Linked DNA regions of Homo sapiens: all the other regions are linked to region 1. Evidence: promoter capture Hi-C in 16 types of primary human blood cells and fetal thymus (Javierre and others, 2016). All regions are on one chromosome and are shown on one strand. Each heading gives the region's core, a stretch centred on a gene start or on the middle of the fragment in contact. The rest is flanking DNA. Distances are from core to core; before and after follow the strand shown.

The links. Contacts are between HindIII fragments. The CHiCAGO score rates a contact against its expected background, and 5 or more counts as called.
Region 2: the fragment with the promoter of AGBL2 here is called in contact with the fragment with the promoter of KBTBD4 in region 1 in 1 of 17 cell types (endothelial precursors); the score reaches 5.0 in endothelial precursors.
Region 3: a contact is called between a fragment that was not itself captured here and the fragment with the promoter of KBTBD4 in region 1, in 1 of 17 cell types (M1 macrophages). The highest score is 5.3, in M1 macrophages.
Region 4: a fragment that was not itself captured here is called in contact with the fragment with the promoter of KBTBD4 in region 1 in 1 of 17 cell types (endothelial precursors); the score reaches 6.5 in endothelial precursors.

Annotation. Positions count from the first base shown.
Region 1 is chr11:47,577,720-47,580,661 of GRCh38, reverse strand. KBTBD4 (kelch repeat and BTB domain containing 4) reads left to right here and starts at 1,692. Exons shown (of 4, transcript NM_018095.6): 1 at 1,692-1,729; 2 at 2,634-2,942. The coding sequence starts at 1,711. NDUFS3 (NADH:ubiquinone oxidoreductase core subunit S3) reads right to left here and starts at 1,588. Exons shown (of 7, transcript NM_004551.3): 1 at 1,504-1,588; 2 at 1,328-1,393; 3 at 40-137. The coding sequence starts at 1,570. RefSeq lists a silencer at 1-73 and enhancers at 815-1,473, 1,542-1,781, 1,474-2,133. The HindIII fragment of the contact is 1,977 bases long and covers 1-1,907 here.
Region 2 is chr11:47,714,085-47,720,015 of GRCh38, reverse strand. AGBL2 (AGBL carboxypeptidase 2) reads left to right here and starts at 4,647. Exons shown (of 19, transcript NM_024783.4): 1 at 4,647-4,841; 2 at 5,266-5,398; 3 at 5,669-5,732. The coding sequence starts at 5,366. It overlaps FNBP4 (formin binding protein 4), which reads left to right. Exons shown (of 17, transcript NM_015308.5): 16 at 1-87; 17 at 2,504-3,522. The coding sequence ends at 2,594. RefSeq lists an enhancer at 4,910-4,969. The HindIII fragment of the contact is 6,151 bases long and covers 3,484-5,931 here.
Region 3 is chr11:47,745,082-47,751,188 of GRCh38, reverse strand. It overlaps FNBP4 (formin binding protein 4), which reads left to right. Exons shown (of 17, transcript NM_015308.5): 5 at 1-46; 6 at 153-273; 7 at 4,795-5,133. Among named protein-coding and RNA genes, the nearest start is that of FNBP4, 19 kb to the left of the region's middle. The HindIII fragment of the contact is 7,780 bases long and covers 1-5,140 here.
Region 4 is chr11:47,371,837-47,377,704 of GRCh38, reverse strand. SPI1 (Spi-1 proto-oncogene) reads left to right here. Exons shown (of 5, transcript NM_003120.3): 2 at 1,976-2,072. Among named protein-coding and RNA genes, the nearest start is that of SPI1, 3.8 kb to the left of the region's middle. RefSeq lists enhancers at 405-604, 3,038-3,539. The HindIII fragment of the contact is 791 bases long and covers 2,620-3,410 here.

The DNA of each region.
Region 1 (2,942 bases), core at 443-2,942:
TTTCTTGACCCAGACCCAAATAACATTAGTAAGTATTACCTGAACTTGTTGGACATACTTGGGCAAGATTTCAGCCACATACTCTCCAAAAGCTGAGAGCTGCTTGTGGGCCACATCATTCCGTGGTCTGACAGTGGCTGGAAGGAAAAGGCATATTTAAAAAAGAAATGGAGAAGGCAAAAGCCAGCCCTGCATGCAGTCTCTTAGGCTTGTAAGGGATGTCAAATCCAGGAAAGGCTCCCTGAAGCACCTTGAGAAAGGTGCATGTGAAAGGTTTCCCTTCTAGGGAATACAGTGATGAAAACTTGGGGAAAGTGCCACCTTAACTACACGGTCCTCAGAAAGACTCTTACTATAGCAGCTGGGGTGTTCACCTCTTCTCAAAATTACTCCACAGTTCTTCCCTCACATTGCCTGCATTTCTGCTAAAGCAGTAGTCTCAGTTCTCCTGTCAGACTAAGAGCTGTTTGAGGATGGGAACTGAACTTTTGCCTCTCTGTAGCTCCTTAGCACGCAAGTTTATACCAGGTTCTCAAGCTAAGAACTTCAGGGCTTGAAGATCCCTCACAGACTCTCTCTCTCCTTAAAAGTGTGTGTGTGTGTGTGTGTCAATGAGAAAACTGAGGCCCAGGTGTGTGTGTGTGTGTGTGTGTGTGTGTGTGTGTGTGTGTGTGTGTCAATGAGAAAACCCAGGAAAGGAGAAATGCCAGGTCTCCTAACTCCCAGTCCGTGTATCTTGACTGTAACATAATATGTACATACTCATTCATGCAACCCTAAACCACTGAGCAATCACACATCACAAGCTACAGAATAATGGTTAGGTGTTTCTGCCTCTGGCAGCAGGCAGGCCTACTTTGTCATTCACTAGGTCTTTGACCCTGGGCAGTTTAATTCTTTGGACTGTTTCCTGATCTATAGTAAGAAGAGTAAGATGCTATCTACCCCATAAGGCTGTTGTGAGGACGAAATAAGATCATTCACTAAAACGCTTAGCGAGGTTCCAGGCACACATTAAGCACTCAATTAACGCTAGGTACTATTATTACAGGGCTCTGAGGCCTAAAGGTTATATTGCTTGCTTTCAAAGAGCTGACAGTTTAATCAGACAAAAAGGGGATGATTGAAATGGACAAGGAACAATCAGGGCCATAACAGGCCTAAGGGCACAGGGAGGGCTCGATTCTGCATGCAGGGTGAAGACCACTGCAAGTCAGATCTCCAAGATTTGCCAGGAGGACGTAGGGAAGGGCATCCTAGGGCAAGGACAGGCATCTAAGGGGCCCCGCCGATAGTTCAGAGAAGAGCGCTGCCCGCACATACTCACGGCGCGTGTCGGCCCCGGCGCTCTCCCGCCTCACCGGCAGCAACAGAACGGAGGGTCGCCCAGTCCCTGCACAGGGAGATAAAAGGCACAGACGCGCGGGATGAGCCCTGAGGAGCTCTCTGCACTGGGCACGCCGCTGCGCCTGACCCCGGTCTCAGCTGGCTGCCCGTGCTCACCCCTGGTCAGCGCCGAGGCCCCCAAGATCCCGCGCCACCACAGCCTGGCTACCGCCGCCGCCGCCATGTTACTCAGATGCAGACTAGGCAGCGGACGGAAAGACAGCAGGACACGGAGCCCCAAGGGCACGGACCGGAAACGGAAGTGTGCAGCAGATCTTCTTCCGGGCGGACGTGGAGCCGGAAGCGGAGGTTCCGGGCTCCGGGATGAAAGGAGGGAACGCAGGTGAGAAAGCGAGACAGGCAGGTAGGGAAATCGTGAGGTGAGCGTGGTCCTAGCTCCTTGTGGCAGAGCCTAGAGAGAAGGCGAGGACGCTGAAGAACCAGGCGGGTGAGAGGAGGGGAGGGGGCGGGCGTTTTGGGTTCTACGCTACACACCCCTCCCCCGCTCTCTGAGCCAAGCTTTTGACGAGGGCGGGCGGGCCTGAGCGGGAAGAACGGTTTCCCTGGCGACCGTTTCCAAGACGACTCAAGGTGGAGCGGGGACATTGCACAGGGTGATGGGCCTCCCAGTGCCCCGGCCTGGGGGCGGATGGACTCAAGTTCTGGGACGCAGCCATAGGGAGTCTTTCGAGCGAGCGGGGAAGTGTGGGGGAAGCAGCTCAGAAGAGAGCAAATGTAAGACCCACGGATATCCCAGGCTAGGCTTCATATGGAGCGTCTTAACTCCATGCGCTGGGAAGGAGAGGACCTGGCCACTAGGCCGGGGCCAGGGGTCCTTTTTGTCTGATTCTACTGCCCCTGAGCTTCACTAGTTTTATGCCCCAGTTATTTGGTTAGTAAGGCTTTTACGATCACAGGCCTCTCCCAGCCCTTTGCTTTCATATATTGACCTAAATCCCAAGTCTTTTGTTAACATTATGGAAAGGAATTATTCCGTGTTTTCTCAGGAAAACACCCAGAGTTGGAACTTTTATTTATATCATTAGCGGAGGGGCGCCACTGGGGATAACGAACCCAGATTTGGTTAAAGGATAGCGTCAGGGACATCATGGACAGGGCCAGGACTAAGGCCAATCTGGACCCACTTTGCTCTCACTTCTTCCTTTTCCCTCCCTGAGTTGGACAGTTGGATTCACAGACTATGGCTGTGAATTCCTCAGGTTACTCAAGATGGTGTTGCTTTGCAGACAGCTGGCAGAGAGAGAAGTTGGCTAGCATGGAATCACCAGAGGAGCCTGGAGCATCCATGGATGAGAACTACTTTGTGAACTACACTTTCAAAGATCGGTCACATTCAGGCCGTGTGGCTCAAGGCATCATGAAACTGTGTCTAGAGGAGGAGCTCTTTGCTGATGTCACCATTTCGGTGGAAGGCCGGGAGTTTCAGCTCCATCGGCTGGTCCTCTCAGCTCAGAGCTGCTTCTTCCGATCCATGTTCACTTCCAACCTGAAGGAGGCCCACAACCGGGTGATTGTGCTGCAGGATGTCAGCGAGT
Region 2 (5,931 bases), core at 3,398-5,897, 140 kb before region 1:
AGAGGACAATTCTAGTTCCAGTGAAGAGGATCGGGAATCAACTGCACAGAAGCGAATTGAAGAGTGGAAACAGCAGCAGCTGGTTAGGTAAAAGAAAAGGAAACACAGATGAGATGGGGTTTTGGAGTAGGTTGAGACCTACTATGAGATGGAGTAGGTTGTGGTTGTTATAGATGCATTAGAATAGACATATTCTTAAAATCACAGCTTGTAAATTTATCTAAAGGTTTCTAATTTATAAACATGTTTAATTCCTTATAGAAATTATGGGCTAGCCTTTTTTCAAAATCAGAAACAACAGAGTTGTAATACTTTGTCCAGTTGATTGTTGGTCTTAGGCAAAGGCCTGTCTTAACTCTCAGTACATCATTTACTATCTAGATCCAGTGGACCCTTTTATACACACACACACACACACACACACACACACACACACACATACACACATAACATATTAACTTATTTTACAAATAATTTATAGAATTAGACCCTTTTATACACACACACATTATTGTACAAATGATTTACAGAATTAGAATAAAGTTTTTCCCCTGTCCCTATATTTCAGTCAAGCAGGGTAGAATACAGAGCTGCCTTCTCAATTGCACTTATTCTAGAACAGAAGTTAATGAGAGAGCACACCACACTAGGAACTAAATGAACCTCTTCTAGGTAAGAAAATCCTTCACTACCTTGCTTGACTAGAATAAAAGGATAGGGAGAACTGGCTTCAAGTAATTGCACCTCAGCCTCCCAGAGTGTTGGGAATACAAGTGTGAGCCACCACACTCAGGTCAGAAATATTTTTTATGATGAAAGCACATGTTGGGCTGGGCACGGTGGCTCACGCCTGTAATCCCAGCACTTTGGGAGGCCAAGGCGGGTGGATCACGAGGTCAGGAATTCGAGACCAGCCTGGCCAACATGGTGAAACCCCATCTCTACTAAAAATACAAAATTAGCTGGGCCTGGTGGCGAATGCCTGTAATCGCTGAGGCAGAAGAATTGTTTGAACCCGCGAGGCGGAGGTTGCAGTGAGCCAAGACCGTGCTATTGCACTCCAGCCTGGACGACAGAGCAAGACTCCATCTCAAAAAAAAAAAAAAAAAACATGTTGGGTGGGCACTGTGGCTCACACCTGTAGTCCTAGATGCTTGGGAGGCTGAGGCAAGAAGATGGCTTTCTCAAAAATTCTAGAAATTTTAAAGACTTTAGACACAGCAAGTACAATTTTTTATTTCATATTTTCCTTGTTTTGAAGGTATACATTCTGAAATGGGCAGCATTCTTTGACTGCAACTCACTGTTCATCAATTGTCAGTGTATAACCTAGAATATAGCTGTCTATTACTGATGCCAGATTTCAAATTAATCTCTGATAGGTTCTAGCTTAGTTTTTATTAAAGGTTCTAATGCATCCATTCTGTTAATTGCAAGATAGAATTTGAATTTTAATCCTTACAAATAAAACTACTTGAAAGAGAAACTCAAAAACATTAGATCCGGCCGGGCACAGGGGCTCACATCTGTAATCCCAGCACTTTGGGAAGCCGAGGTGGGTGGATCACGAGGTCAGGAGTTCGAGACCAGCCTGGCCAACATAGTGAAAACCTGTCTTTACTAAAAATATAAAAATTAGCTGGACATGGTGGCAGGCGCCTGTAGTCCAAGCCACTTGGGAGGCTGAGGCAGGAGAATCGCTTGGACCTAGGAGGCAGAGGTTGCAGTGAGCCGAGATTGTGCCACTGCACTCCAGTCTGGGCAACAGAGCAAGACTCCATCTCAAAAACAGAAAAAAAAACATTAGATCCCAGGGTCCCTGTTGGTAGACTGAGGATTAGATATATCTGCCCTGAAGAATCATAACTCCTGTGGGCTAAGAAAAACTCTAATAGAACGTGTTTCATTTCTTCAGTGTGCCTTTAATGGTTATTGGAGGTATATTTATATAAAATAAATAAGGCCGGGCACGGTGGCTCACACCTGTAATCCCAGCACTTTGGGAGGCCAAGGCAGTCAGATCACCTGAGGTTGGGAGTTCGAGACCAGCCTGACCAACATGGAGAAACCCTGTCGCTACTTAAAAAAAAAAAAAATTAGCCAGGCATGGTTGCACATGCCTGTAATCCCAGCTACTCTGAGGGGAGGCTGAGGCAGGAGAATCGCTTGAACCTGGGAGGCGGAGGTTGCGGTGAGCCGAGATCGCACCATTGCACTCCAGACTGGGCAACAAGAGCAAAATTCCGTCTCAATCAGTCAATAATAAATAAATAAATATGCACTTAGACATATACGTAAAACTGGGGTAGTGTTTGGTTGACCTATCAGAATGAAGAAGTTTGATGAAGAATATACTGATGTTTGGCTGAGAAACAAAAGATTTTCATAAACATAGACGTGATAGATCAGGTTTTTAATTTCAGTTAGATTTTTATTTGCTGGGAAATGAATACTTTTGTTAATTTTTCTTTCCACTAAAATAATCTGTATGTTGTTTTCACAGTGGCATGGCAGAGAGAAATGCTAATTTTGAAGCCCTTCCTGAGGATTGGAGAGCAAGGCTGAAGAGAAGGAAAATGGCTCCAAACACATAGTTTTTAAGTTTTTAAAACTTTTTTGTATTATTGTTTGTTTTGTGTTCAGTTCAAAGTCTTAACCAGTTTTATTGTCAAATAAACTATAAATGTTATGGGGGAGATCTTATAAATTTCCTGGGCAAGAGTGTATGCATACAAAGTTTTCACTTTTGTGAAATGTAATTTTTCTGTTTTTGCAAAGGGATGAGGTGATTGGAATTGCTTTGACCATGCTGCCTTTATTCTCAAACTGGCAAACTTAGCATGTTAGGTGTATTAACCTCATCAGTCTTGAAGAACATGTGGCTCATGAGTATAACACTTCTGTAGAGGACTCCCTGACAAAAGTGAAGAATTAACTTCTCCTCCAGAACAAGTGCAATTCAGAAGGCAGCTCTGCATTCTACCTTGCTTGACTGGAATTGTCTGAAGCTTTTTCTGGCCTCTTTTCTCTAGTCGGCCACCCCTGAAGTGCTGAGGTCTAAGTGGTTTACCTCGTGCTGATAGATGGCCACACTCTTTAGAGTAGTTCTCATAAGTTCTAGAACTGGTAGCTCGGTCGTTTCGCACACTAGGTGGCATACAGGCAGCAGCAGGTGTTCATATCCTTGATTTTGAGAATTTCCCCTCAAGTATGTGGCAGTAAATACAACAAGACACTCTATGTATTAATGTCTCCATTGTCTTAACCCTGTTCCAAAACAAAATTCACCTCCTTTCTTTATGTGAATGTATTCTCCATAAAATTCCAGTATTTAAAAAGCAGTTTACTGTTCTGTACTTTCTGTTGTATCACAATCAGGTAAAAGTCACTTTAAACTGAGGAAACGGCAAATTGTGTTTTAAAGCTCTTTGTATTTCTCCAGTTTCTGACCTTGTAAATTTGTATATATGCACTAATAAAGCTTTTTTTATAATCCTGATGGGTTATCCTTTTGCTCGTCAACTCCTGTTATTCTGATTATGTAACCAGGACTTGTTTTTTTTTCTAAGCATATACAATGCAAGGTGCAAACATTTAACAACAGCTTTCAAGAAAATGAGCAGGAGATCTTTAATGGGGAGTGGTGGGGCCAGTTTAGACAAACAGGCTTCTAGTCCCAGATGGTGCTGTGTGATCAAAGTTTTGGGGTCTAATATTATCTATAATATCTAGATTGGTTAATAGCCATATTAGATAATATTTTACCTACTTAATTCCTGGCAATGATGTAATATGGTTAACATTTCAGAAAAAAAGGTGCTTTATAGCTTTTTTCCCCCCACTGATAAAAGTAACAGATACGGTTATATTCATATATAGTTAACCAAAGACACGTGTTTGAATTTTATTGTAGTATATTTATTTTTTTGTTGTTGGTTTTTTGTTTTTTTTTTTTCTGGAGACAGAATTTCGCTCTTGTTGCTCAGGCTGGAGTGCAATGGCACGATCTCGGCTCACCGCAACCTCCGCCTCCCAGGTTCAAGTGATTCTCCTGCCTCAGCCTCCCGAGTAGCTGGGATTACAGGCATGCGCCACCACACCCAGCTAATTTTGTATTTTTAGTAGAGATGGGGTTTTTCCATGTTGGTCAGGCTAGTCTCCAACTCTCGACCTCCCAAAGTTCTGGGATTACAGGCGAGAGCCACCGCGCCTGGCCTGGAGTAAATTTCTATGCATATAATTGATTTTTTTAAACCTAATCAAAATGTGTGATTTGAATTTGTTAGCTCTGTTTCTTAAGATTTGCAGTGTAGAAGGTAATTTTTCCTTTCTAGCTGTGCAGTGGAGAGAATGTTAAGGTGAAAGGAGAGAAGCAGCAGCTCTCTTAGAGCAAATTATGCATAACAGTTATCTAAAGCCAACAGCAAACCAGCTTGGAAGTATGTTGAAGGCTACTGGCATCGTACTCATCAATGCGGTTTCGATTCCGAGGCTGGGGCTGTGATGTATGAGGGGAAGAAAGCCGCTGCCCGCCATACATGTTGCAGACCTTCCCGGGGTCCCCGCTCCCTCCTTGGGGGCGAGGCCTAGCTCCCCGGAAGCGCCCGACCGCCCCGCCCTTTCTCCGCTTCCTGCTTTCGGTTGCTAGACTACCCGGGCCCTCACAGAAGGCGGTGGCGGGCGGGTGCAGCGAGTTTGTCCCCTTGCCCGCACACTGCTTGGCCTCTGTACTTAAGTGCGGTGGCCGCCTGCCTCGCTGGAGCTTCTCTGCCGCAGCCATCCGTGCTGCTTGGGACGGGCCGGGGCGCGAAGGCGGTCGCATCCATCGCTCTGCCCTCCTGGGAAGTTTCTGCTCTCCTTCCCCGCTCCTACCCTTAGGAAACCCCCTCACCACCTGCCCCAGACCAGGTTCCTCTGAACCCTAAATTCAATCTTTAGGGCCCACTTTCCCAACCCCCTGACCTTTTTCCATCGGCACCTACCGAGACGACTTCGTCGCGTGCTCCCATACCCATTTCTTTCACTTTCCTGTGGCGAGCATCTCCTTTCTCAGGGAAAGGGAAGCATGGGGCCAGCACCTTGGGAAGAAGAAGCGGGAAGATACGCTGCCCTCCCTGTCTCAGATGCACCTCTGGCCTCGGCGTGACCACCTTGTTTAGCTGAGGAGAAGCTGGGTTGGCAGGGTTTTCTGAAGTCAAGAGGGAGCTGGGGGGCGCCCGGGGAGGTATTGGCAGTTTTTTCACTTGTCCTCTTGTGGCTTTGTAGCTTCTCTTGTGTAATCAGCTGCCTATTTGGAAATTGGGCAGGGTTTGCGACTGGATGCTAATGTCACTGACTAGTTTTCAGCCTACCATCCAGAAGTAACATGTTCCCAGCTTTGGAAACGCACCTAAAGCAGGTCGGTACACAACACGGAAAGCCACAGAAATTTCTTCGGGGAACTCCATTTCTTCGGGAACTCCACAGAAATCTGCTACTAGATGAGAAGGGATGTTCTGGTGGCATCTTTTCTCAGCTGGAGATCTTGATCCCCACGATAGAATAATTCGCATGGAATGCAGCTCGCTTGGTTTAGTCTAGTCCTATGCAACAACGCTCATGTACTTTTTGTTGAGTCTATTATGGTTTGAAAACATTATCTTGATTGAAGTGGCCTTTCCTTTCACAGACTATTCCTGATCCTTATGAAGACTTTATGTACCGTCACCTCCAATATTATGGCTACTTTAAAGGTAATACCATGTTCTTATCTAGTATCACCTTTCCTGGACTCAAGAGGAAAATTGCTTCGTTAGCTGGGAGGGTTGCACTTGGGTAGACTAATAAATAATTTGCATTGACAAATAAATACTTTTTCCTCTACCATTAGTGAAAAGTACTTCCTTTCCCCATTGATCTGCGGGTCACCTCTGTCAAGTAGACAGCATCACT
Region 3 (6,107 bases), core at 1-2,500, 170 kb before region 1:
AATATCTTGCCACACAGGTACAGGGATTACAGCATTACCAGCCCAGGTAAGAATAAATTTAAAAGTGAAATTGCCTAGAAGGAAATTGAAGCCTTATCTTTTGCTGATAGTATTTGTCTTATATTTCTCTTGCTAAGTATATATTTTTTTAGTTCTGTGCCAGGTGCTGAAACTAGTTTTGTGGTAAATACAGACATATATTCTAAGGAGAAAACGATTTCTGTTTCCAGTAGTAAAAGTGGACCAGTCATAGCCAAGCGAGAAGTTAAAAAGGTCAGTGTCGAAACTTACCTCATTTGTTTATTTTCAGATCTAATAAGCGTTACTCTGAGCACAGGAGTGGAAGCCTTCTCTTAATATTTTATGTCATACATGTGAAATAGGATAAGTTTCATAACTTTCACTTTGTTTCTGTGTATTATGTAGCCTTTATAGCGGTTACTCACTTGACTTTTTCTTTTTTCTTTTTTCTTTTTTTTTTTTTTTTTTTTTTTTTTTTTGAGACAGAGTCTCGCCCCGTCACCCAGGCTGGAGTACAGTGGTGCGATCTCAGCTGACTGCAAGCTCCACCTCCCGGGTTCACACCATTCTCCTGCCTCAGCCTCCTGAGTCGCTGGGATTACAAGCACCCGCTACCACACCTGGCTTATTTTTTGTATTTTTAGTGGAGACGGTGTTTCACTGTGTTAGCCAGGATGGTCTCGATCTCCTGACCTCATGATCCGCCTGCCTTGGCCTCCCAGAGTGCTGGGATTACAAGCGTGAGCCACCACATCTGGCCTTTTTTTTTTTTTTTTTTTTTTTTTTGATATGGAGTCTCGCTCTGTTGCCCAGGCTGGAGCGCAGTGGTGCTGTCTCAGCTCACTGCAACCTCTGCCTCCCAGGCTCAAGAAGTGATTCTCCTGCCTCAGCCTTCTGAGTAGCTGGCATTACAGGCACCTGCCACCATGCCTGGCTAATTTTTGTATTTTTATTAGAGGCAGGGTTTCACCATGTTGGTCAGGCTGGTCTCAAACTCCTGACCTCAGGTGATCTACCTGCCTCAGCCTCCCAACGTGCTGAGATTACAGGCATGAGCCACTGCAGCTGGCCCACTTCACTTTTTCTTTGAGAGCTTTAGGGTATCACAGAGGCCTCTTGGATCATTGCAAAGGACGTGGGAGCAGCAGTCCAGACAGGGCTCCACTTCACATAGAATCATTCTATTATTTTTCGGATTCCATATATAAGACATTTTAAAAATATAAAGGTAACTACTTTAAAAACTACTGCAGGTTGAGTATTTCTTAATTGAAATGCCTGGGATCGGAGATAATTTAGATTTTGAATTTTTTTGAATTCTGAAATATTTGCGTTATACTTAGCAGTTGAGTATTCTTAATCTGAAAATGTGAAATCTGAGATGCTCCAGTGAGCATTTCCTTTGATCATCATGTCAGTGCTCAAACGGTTTCAGATTTTGGATTTTTCAATAACGGATACTATGTTAGTGAAACCTGAGCATTTCTATAGCCTAATTAGTAAGAAAAGTAAGTTGTATTCCTTAGGGAGTGTATATTGAATTCCAATTTATCTTCAATTTTAAAGACTTTTTTGCATCAAAATATATTTTAATTTTAATTTTTTTCTTTTTGAGACAGAGTCTTGCTTGGTTACCCAGGCTGGAAGGGAGTGGCGCGATTTCAGCTCATTGCATCCTCCGCCTCCCAGTTTCAAGCAATTCTGCCTCAACTTCCCGAGTAGCTTGGATTACAGGCACAACGCCTGACTAATTTTTCTATTTTTTTTTAGTAGAGACGAGGTTTCACCAGTTGGTCAAGCTGGTCTTGAACTCCTGACCTCAAGTGATCCACCTGCCTCAGACGCTGGGATTACAGGCACAAGCCACCGCACCTTTCCTTTTTATTTACTTATTTTTGAGACAGGATCTGACTCTGTCACCCAGGCTAGAGTACAGTGGCACGACCATGGCTCACTGCAGATTTACTCTCCTGAGCTCAAGCAGTCCTGCCTCAGACTGCTTAGTAGCTGGGACTACAGGTGTGCACCACCATGCCAGGTTTTGTTTGTTTGTTTGTTTGTTTGTTTGTTTTTTGAGAGACGTGGTCTCACCATGTTTGCCAGACAGGTCTCAAACTCTGAGCTCAAGTGATGCTTCTGCCTCGGCCTCCCAAATTGCTTACATTATAGGTGTGAGCTACTGCATGTAGCCCAAAAAAAATACTTTAAAATAATATAATTGAGCTTGGCGCAGTGGCTCACACCTGTAATCCCAGCACTTCGAGAGGTCAAGGCAGGCGGATCACTTGAGGTTAGGAGTTCAAGACCAGCCTGGCCAACATGGTAAAACCCCGTCTATTAAAAATACTAAAATAACTGGGTGTAGTGGCACATGCTTGTAGTCCCAGCTACTTGGGGGTCTGAGGCAGGAGAATCGCTTGAATCTGGGAGGCAGAGGTTGCAATGAGCTGAGACCGCACCACTGCACTCCAGCCTGGGTGACAGAGTGAGACTCCATCTCAAAAAAAAATTTAATAATAATAATAAAATAATAATTTAATCAGGGCAGGAAGATGGCTTGAGTGCAGGAGTTCTAAACCAGCCTGGAAAACATAACAAGATCAACCCCATCTCTACAAAAGAAAAATTACCCAGGCAAGGTAGCACACACCTGTAGTCCCAGCTACTCAGGAGGCAGAGGCAAGAGGATAGCTTGAGCCCAGGAGTTCAAAATTATCATTGTGCCAGTGTGTTCCAGCCTGGACAGAGTGAGACCATCCAGAAATAATAATAATAACTTAAATTTACAGTTACAGAAAGGAGGATAGGACAAGTGTTACCCCAATGGGAGAAGCAGATACTTTAATCACAAATTTCATTTCAGGAATAGTTCATTTTATTTTATTTTATTTTATTTTTATTTTTTATTTTTATTATTTTTTTTTTCTTTGAGACCTAGCCTAGCTCTGTCACCCAGGCTGGAGTGCAGTGGCGCGATCTCTGCTCACTGCAACCTCCACCCCCCGGGTTCAAGCGATTCTCCTGCCTCAGCCTCCCGAGTAGCTGGGAGTACAGGCGCCTGTCCCACGCCCGGCTAATTTTTGTAGTTTAGTAGAGACGGGGTTTCACCATATTGGCCAGGCTGATCTCGAACTCCTGACCATGTGATCCTCCCACCTTGGCCTCCCAAAGTGCTGGGATTACGGGCATGAGCCACCACGCCCAGCTATTTTATTTTTTTGAGACAGTCTCTCACACTGTCATCCGAGCTGGAGTACAGTGGCATGATCTCAGTTCACTGCAACCTCTGCCTCCCAGGTTCAAGCGATTCTTCTGCCTCAGCCTCCCGAATAGCTGGGATTACAGGCGCACGCCGCCATGCCGGGCTAATTTCTGTATTTTTAGCAGAGATGGGGTTTCACTATGTTGGCCAGGCTGGTCTCAAACTCCTGACCTTGTGATCCGCCTGCCTTGGCCTCCCAAAGTGCTGGAATTACAGGCATGAGCCACTGCGCCCGGCCTAGGAATAGTTCACTTTAGTCTAAATCACCTTCATGGCATACTTACTAAATTTTCTTATCAGGCCCAGCATGGTGGCTCACGCCTGTAATCCCAGCACTTTCGGAGGCTGAGGTGGGCAGATCACCTGAGGTCAGGAGTTCAAGATCAACTTGGCCAACCTGGTAAAACCCTGTCTCTACTAAAAATACAAAAATTGGGCCTGTTGCCAAGGTGGGCGGATCACCTGAGGTCAGGAGTTCGAGACCAGCCTGGCCAACGTGGTGAAACCCTGTGTCTACTAAAAGTACAAAAAAAATTAGCCAGGCTTGGTGGCTCTCGCCTATAATCCCAGCTGCTCAGGAGGCTGAGGCAGGGAAATTGCTTGAACCCGGGAGGCAGACGTTGCAGTGAGCCGACATCACACTTTGCACTCCAGCCTGGGCAAGAAGAGCGAGAGTTCGTCTCAAAAACAGAAACAAAAATGAGCTGGGTGTAGTGGTGCATCCCTGTAATCCCAGCTACTTGGGAGGCTAAGGCTGTGAGGCTGGGAATCGCTGGAACCTGGGAGGCAGAGGTTGCAGTGACTTGAGATCACGCAATTGCACTCCTGGGCAACAGAGTGAGACTCTCTCAAAAAAAAAAATTTCTCATCATACAGAAGAAGGTAAAGATTTATCCAGTCATGTTATGAGCTGACAAAATACTGATCTTAAATCTATCTCTGTTTACTACTAGTCTGCCTTTTGACATCCTGAGAATAGCAGGGAGGATATATTTGAATCCTACCTAGAACTAGGCTCTCATTCAGTCAGTGTCTGTCTAAAGTAATAATGTAATGGTATAAATATATACTCACCTGTTGGGAGTAAGTGGTTTTGGCCGGGCACGGTGGCTCACACCTGTAATCCCAGCACTTTGGGAGGCTGAGGTGGGCAAATCACAAGGTCAGTAGTTTGAGACCAGCCTGGCCAACGTGGTGAAAGGCCTCTACTAAAAATACAAAAAATTAGCTGGGCATGGTGGCGGGCGCCTGTAATCCCAGCTACTTGGGAGGCTGAGACAGGAGAATAGCTTGAACCTGGGAGGCAGAGGTTGCAGTGAGCCAAGATTGTGCCACTGCACTCCAGCCTGGGTGACAGTGCGAGACTCCATCTCAAAAAAAAAAAAAGTCGTTTTTACCTTGAGTATTCAGCTACTGAAAACAGTTAATATGAATGTGTGTGCAATTGAATGTATGTGCAGGTGAGATTTGTTTCAGAATTAAATGAGACTAAATTATTTTGTTCTTTATAGGAAGTAAATGAAGGAATTCAGGCTCTCTCAAATAGTGAGGAGGAGAAGAAAGGGGTGGCAGCATCGCTGCTTGCTCCTTTATTGCCTGAGGGAATAAAAGAAGAAGAAGAGAGATGGAGAAGAAAAGTAATTTGTAAAGAGGAGCCAGTTTCAGAAGTAAAAGAAACAAGTACAACAGTAGAAGAAGCAACAACAATAGTAAAGCCACAGGAAATTATGTTGGACAATATAGAAGACCCTTCTCAGGAGGATCTTTGCAGTGTTGTCCAATCTGGAGAAAGTGAGGAGGAAGAGGAACAAGATACCCTTGAACTGGAGCTAGTTTTGGAAAGGAAAAAAGTAAGCTTTTGAAAGTTACTTGTAGAATGTTTTTTCCTCAGTACTACTCTACAGGGATCATTGTGCTTGACTTACAACCATTATTGGGATTTTGTTTTTCTTATCCCATCATCTAGGTATGTTGAAGCTTATGCAGCAAAAACTTTAAACTACAGAGGTGTAGGTTTTTTGGTCCTTGATGATACTTTTGGTAGTTATCGGGGGAACTCACCCCCAATATTTCAACCTAGGTTCTTTCTATTTTCCATAAGTGTCGGCCAGCTGAGAAATAGAAAGAGTATAATGAGAGGAATTTTACAGCTGGGCCGCCGGGGGTGACATCACATATCGGTAGGACTATGATGCCCACCCGAGCCTCAAACCAGCAAGTTTTTTATTAAGGGTTTCAAAAGGGGAGGAGGTGTAAGAACAGGGAGTAGATCATGTGCTTCAAAGGGCAAAAAGGTACTGATAAGGGTCTATGTTCAGCGGTGCACATGTTGTCTTGATAAACATCTTAAACAACAGAAAACAGGGTTCAAGAGCAGAGAATCAGTCTGACCACAGACTTACCAGGGCCGGGTTTTTCCCCACCCTAATAAGCCTGAGGGTACTTCAGGAGACCAGGGCGTATCTCAGTCCTTATCTCAACCGCATAGGACAGACATTCCCAGAGCGGCAGTTTATAGACCTACCCCCAGGAATGCATTCCTTCCCCAGGATATTAATATTAATATTCCTTGCTAGGAAAAGAATTTAGCGATATCTTCCCTACTTGCATGTCCATTTATGGGCTCTATGCAAGAAGAAAAATATGGCTCTTTTTGCCTGACCCTGCAGGCAGTGAGACCTTATGGTTTTCTTCCCTTGTTCCCTAAAAATCACTGTTACTCTGTTCTTTTTCAAGGTGCACTGATTTCATACTGTTCAAACACGTTTTACAATCAATTTGTACAGTTAACACAATTATCACAGTGGTCCTGAGGTGATGTACA
Region 4 (5,868 bases), core at 1,766-4,265, 200 kb after region 1:
TGCAGTTAGGGCTGGCCCCAGGGCTGGAGTTCAGGGAGAGGCGCGGCAGGGGACAGGGCTGGGACAAGGCCAGGACTGAGATTGGGGCTGGGTGGGACCTGGGGTGAGCATGTGATAAGTGAGAATGGGGGCTGAGGCTGGGACAAGGACAGGGACTGGGTCTTGGGGGTGAAGAAGTGGGAGCCCCAGGGGACCCCGAGAAGAGAAGGGCAGATCGCCACTGCTCCTCACTCTCAGTGACAGTTGCAGCCTTAGGCAGGTGTCAGACCAGGGTCCCTCGGAAAGGACCCTTCTCCCTTTTCCCACCCCATGACCTCTCAGGAGTGAGGAGGCTTGAGGGGAGCCGGGAAGGGCTTGGCAGGCTGCCCACCTGAATCCACTTTCCTGGTCTAGAGGCAGCTCCCTTCCCCCACTATGCCCTGGCTCAGAGCCACCCCAGGAGGCTGGGAGGCACCCCAGGCCTGACATCACACCAACCCGACCAGAGCCGGGCTGACATCCTGCAGCGAGGCTGTACTACCTGGAAACCCAGAGGGGCAGGCTCAGTGCTGGGCTCCTGGCCTCCTCACTTGGCCAGCCACAGGCAGGACCAGGCAGGACCAGCCAGCCTGCTGTGGCATCCACACCGACACCCCTTCCCACCTGGGAACACGAAGTGGGCGGCCCAGGCAGAGGGTGACGGAGGTTGTCTCAGAAAGAGCCAATTCTGCCTCAAGAAAGCCACAGGCCCACTGTCTCTGATCCCTGACCTCTCAATTCTGAACTCCAGGTGGAGCTAGATGGGTGGCAGAGCTCCTTGGGCCATCCCTAGGCACCCCCAGCCCTCTCTGCAAGCTCCAGGGTCACTCTGAGTGTCTCCTGGTAGGGTGGGCTCCCAAGGCAGCCCCGGTCCCCCAAGCCCAGCCCTAAGGGCCACAGTGACTGTTATGCAATCCTGGGCCACACGCTGCGGGGGCGGGGAGGCCTGATGACTGTTGGGAAGGCTCCTGGGTGTGCACGGCCCTGTGTCTGTGCCAGTAGGGGGAGGAGGACAGGGAGGAGGGAGGAAGGTGGGAGGAAAGAAGGAGGACAGGGAAGAGGGGGAAGAAAAGGAGGACAGAGGGGAGTGAGGAGGGGGAGGAGGAAGCAAAGGAGACGGGGAGGGGGATGCAGTGAGGAGGGAAGGAGGAGGATAGGGAGGACTCAGGAGGGAGAGTGAGGGGATCAAGGCCCTCCATGCGCTCGGCCCCTAAGTCTGCCTGGGTGACCCCTGCACCAACCGTCAGTGTGGAGGGTCATTGTGGTGCCACTCTTGCCCAGGCTGTGTGAGAGGCATAGGCTGTGAGAGTGGGGCTGGGCAGGCAAGTGTGTGCTGTGCGGTTGAGTGTGCAGGTGGAATGTGAGTGGCTCTGGGGGTGTGAGTGTGTGTGTTGATGGCTGGAACGTGGTGTCATGTGAGTGTCAATCAAGGAGACTCTGCGTGTGTGCATGAGCTGAGTGTACAATGTCTCTGTGAGGTGGGTGACCTCTGAGTGGGTATGAAGATGTGTGTGTGAGGGATAGTGTGCAGGCGCCTGCATGGGGGTGGGTAGGGGCTGTGAGAGTGAGTCCTCGTGTGGGATTATGAGTGTGAGGGTGACACAGGGATCGTGTGGACATGTGCATCAGTGTGACCAGGAGAGGTGTGTGGGATGAGGATGGGGGCACACAGGCGTGAGTGTGAGTGTGAGCGTGAGGTGGCTATGGGGAGTAGCCCAGCAGAGGGGGACCCTGGTCCTCTTCTGACCTCTCACCCCCAAGGTCCCTGTCACCCCTTTTCAGGCCTTCTGGGTCCCCTGCCCCACTCTCTGTCCCAGTTCCAGGCAGAGGGAGGGCTGTAGGTCCAACGCAGCCACTGAGCCAGGGAAGGTGATGGGGACCCAGCGTGCGGGGGTGCTGCAGGCCTGGCTGGGGTCTCCCACCATGGTGCAGGCCCTGACACCTCCTCTCTCAGCAGCCATCAGAAGACCTGGTGCCCTATGACACGGATCTATACCAACGCCAAACGCACGAGTATTACCCCTATCTCAGCAGTGATGGGGAGAGCCATAGCGGTGAGTACGGGGCCTGCCACGCCCCCATCCCCCAGCCCAGCCTGGGCTCCTGGGGTCTGGAGAGAGAAAAAGAATAAATGATTCCCAGGACTTCTTTGGAATTCTGAGAATCAGATCAAGTTTGCTCTCAAAGGCAGTGAACTGCAGCATCATCGCTGCACCCCCACACCTGAGCCTCCATTATGGAGCCTCTGCAGTGTGTCAAGGTGCGGGGTTCATTTCTTCCATGGTTATCTGCTGGTTCTGTCCTTGTGGTCTTCTTTATAAACAAGGAAACAGGCTTAGGGTGCTAGGAGACTTGCACAAGGTCACACGGCTGCTGGGTGGAACCCAGGTCTGTCCGCTCCAGGTCCTGTGCTTTTTTTTCTGCCCCTGCCTAACTACCCACCTCCTCCTCTCTGTTCTCGTCACTCTCTGTCCCAAACTCCCCGCCGGCACATCCGCACTTCCTGCCATGTGTGGTTGGCAGGGTTTCCTAACTGTGGCACTGCTGACATTTTGGGTGGGATGATTCCTGGGTGGGCTGTCCCGGGTACCGTAGGAAGCTTAGTGGCATCCTTGCTTCTACCTACCACATGCCAGGGCCATGGCCAATCATGACAACCAAAAATGTCTCCACCCATTGGCAGATCCCCCCGGGAGGCAAAATCACCCCTAATTGGGAACTGCTGGGCCGAAGGAAAACCTATGAGAACCTCTTGTTCAGCAGAGGCCGAGGCCCCCAGTTTGCTGAAGTGGGAGGAAGAGGCCTGGGCCAGGGTGTCCTTCTGTCTGTCCAGTCCTTCTGGGTCTGACTGTCTGCCCCATAGCCCAGCCTCCGTCCTGGAGCAAATTCAGGGGATGGGAGAGAGGCATTAGGTGCCTGGGACCTGAGCAGGGGGCTGCGGGAGGTTGCCCAAAGTGGATCTTGGCTTATTGATGTAGACATCCCTGACCCAAAGCGAGGTGGCCTAGTCAGTGGGTGAGTCGTCACTGGGGAATTCCTCAGGGCGTCTGGGACCCGGGCAGACCAGCGACTGGGGTGTCTGCACCTCAGAGGGCAGAGGCCCACAGCCTAGGAAGGTGTCACTCCTGAAGGCCACCCCTGCGGCCAGTCATGCCTGTAGCTCCATTCTGCAGATGCACCTGTGGCGGTCTAAACCTGATGGGCCCAGCTAGGGATCCACATGTGCCTGGTCCACATTTAGGGCCCCAGATTCATCCGGAACTCAGACTGGAAGCCATATCCCAGGGGTAGGCGGATATGCCTCCAGGCCACAGCTGGGAACGCACAGGCATCTTTTAGAATCTTTCAGGGCTAGAAAGCCTTTAAAATATCCTTTTTAATTCCTTCAAGCTTATTTGTAATTATGTAAAAAACACATCCTCTTGGTGGGAAACCCAGGCAATGTAGAGAGAAAGTCCCCCTCCCCCAACTCCATCCCCAGCTCTCCCTACCAGAGTGAAGAGCCCGGTCTGGGGGACCCAGAGACCACGCACCCACCTTCCCAAGCGGTTCCAGGACTCCAGGAGGTCCCGCTGGGCCCTGGGACAGGCGCCCCCTGGTGGCTCGGGTCACCACAGACAGTGCTGTCAGGCCTCCTCCAACAAGGACGCATTCTCCCTGGCCCAATCCCTCTTCAGTTCACTGGGCTTGGGTGCGTTTCCTTTGGGCCTTTTGCAGCCTCAGTTTTCCTTCCTGTAATATGAGGGCGCTGCCCACATAGCTGGAAACCAGTGAGCCTGGGGCTGGGCCTGATGGAGTGAGCACTTTAGAGAAAGCATGTGTTTTCGTGGCTCAGGGTCCAAGCAGGTTCCTTATATCTCAGGTGGGACTCTAGGAATGACTCCTGATTGGATGCCTGGGCACCCCATGTTGGTCATGAACCCCTAGTTCCTCCAGAGACTCCACCAGTGTTCCCAGGTGTCCTCGGCCTTGGCTCTGTCCCACTCTTAATCACTGCCAATCAGGGCATTTGGGCTGTCCTTTTCTTTTTTTTTTTTTTTTAGGACAGTCTTGCTCTGTTGCCCAGGCTAGAGCGCAGTGGCCCAATCTTGGCTCACTGCAACCTCCGCCTCCTGGGTCCAAGCGATTCTCTTGCCTCAACATCCCAAGTAGCTAGGATTACAATCGTGCACTACCATGCCTGGCTAATTTTTGTATTTTTAGTAGAGATGAGGTTTTACCATGTTGGCCAGGCTGCTCTCAAACTCCTGACCTCAAGTGATCCACTTGCCTCGGCCTCCCAAAGTGCTGGGATTACAGGTGTGAACCACCGCGCCCAGTCTGTCCCTTTTTTTTGATACGGAGTCTCGTACTGTCGCCCGGGCTGGTGTGCAGTGGCACAATCTTGGCTCACTGCAACCTCCGCCTCCCGGATTCAAGCGATTCTCCTGCCTCAGCCTCCCAAGTAGCTAGGATTACAGGCGCCTGCCACCACGCTCAGCTAATTTTTTGTATTTTTAGTAGAGACAGGGTTTCACTATGTTGGCCAGGCTGGTCTCGAACTCCTGACCTGGTGATCCGCCTGCCTCAGCCTCCCAAAGTGCTGGGATTACAGGCGTGAGCCACTGCGCCCGGCCGGGCTGTCCCTTTTTATACCCGCTGGAAGGTATCGTCTGAAGACTCAACCATAGAGACCCCCACACACTTCTGTCAATTCCTGCACGTCCTCTTTGTCCACATTTTTAGGTACTGAAGCTTAGTGAAAAAGCTTTGGCCCAGCCCTGGCTCCATCACTTACCAGCTGTGAAAACTTGGGGCAAGTAACATAACCTTTCTGAGTCCCTATTTCCCCATTTATAAAACTGACAGCATGAAAATACTTACCTCCTAGGGCTGTGATGATTCAGCGAGGTAAGGCATATAATCTCTGAGGTAAGGTAACGTGCAGAGGACGAGGCCCGTGCTAGCTTCACTGCATTCCTCAAGGCAGGAGGGACAAAGCGGCTGGGGAGTGGGAAAAGCACAGAGGGCTCTGTGAGAGACCAACTGGGTTATTTTCCACTGACCCAGGGGACAGTCAATCTGCCACCCACCCCCACATCCATGCACTCACCCTCCCATCCACCCACCTACTCGTCCATCCTGCCAGCCGCTTCCCATCTGATCCACTTTTCCTCCCTATTCCATCCATTAAATAGTTTCTGAGTATCAGACACTCTTGTAGGCTCTGGGGAGTCCATGATGAGCACCAGACAAGGCCACTGCTCTCACAGAGCTCACTCTCCAGCGAGGGGATGGGGACATAAGGAATTAAATAGGCTGGGGCGTGGTGGCTCATGCCTGTAATTTCAGCATTTTGGGTGGCTGAGGTGGGTGGATCACGAGGTCAAGAGATAGAGGCTATCCTGGCCAACATGGTGAAACCCCATCTCTACTAGAAATACAGGTGGTGGTGCCCACTTGTACTCCTAGCTACTTGGGAGGCTGAGGCAGGAGAATCGCTTGAACTCCGGAGGCGGAGGTTGCAGTGAGCTGAGATCGCGCCACTGAACTCCAACCTGGTGACAGACAAAGCGAGACTCCAGCAAAAAAAAAAAAAAAAGAATCAGACAAAGAGACCATTTTCTGCAGATGTAATGCGGAGTGTCTACATGGGGGGCTGCTTTCATTTGAGTGGTCAGGGAAGGCCTTTGAGGTGGCAGCTGAGCTAAGAGAAGGAACTCGTAATTCACATGTGACCATAGGTAGGGGAGAGGTATTCAAGGTAAAGGGAACAGAAAATGCAAAAGCAGAAAGGACCCTGACAGAGGACCAGAGAGGCCAGTGAGCACAGGGCAGGGGACAGAAAGGGAAGCCAAAGGGGTCAGCTGC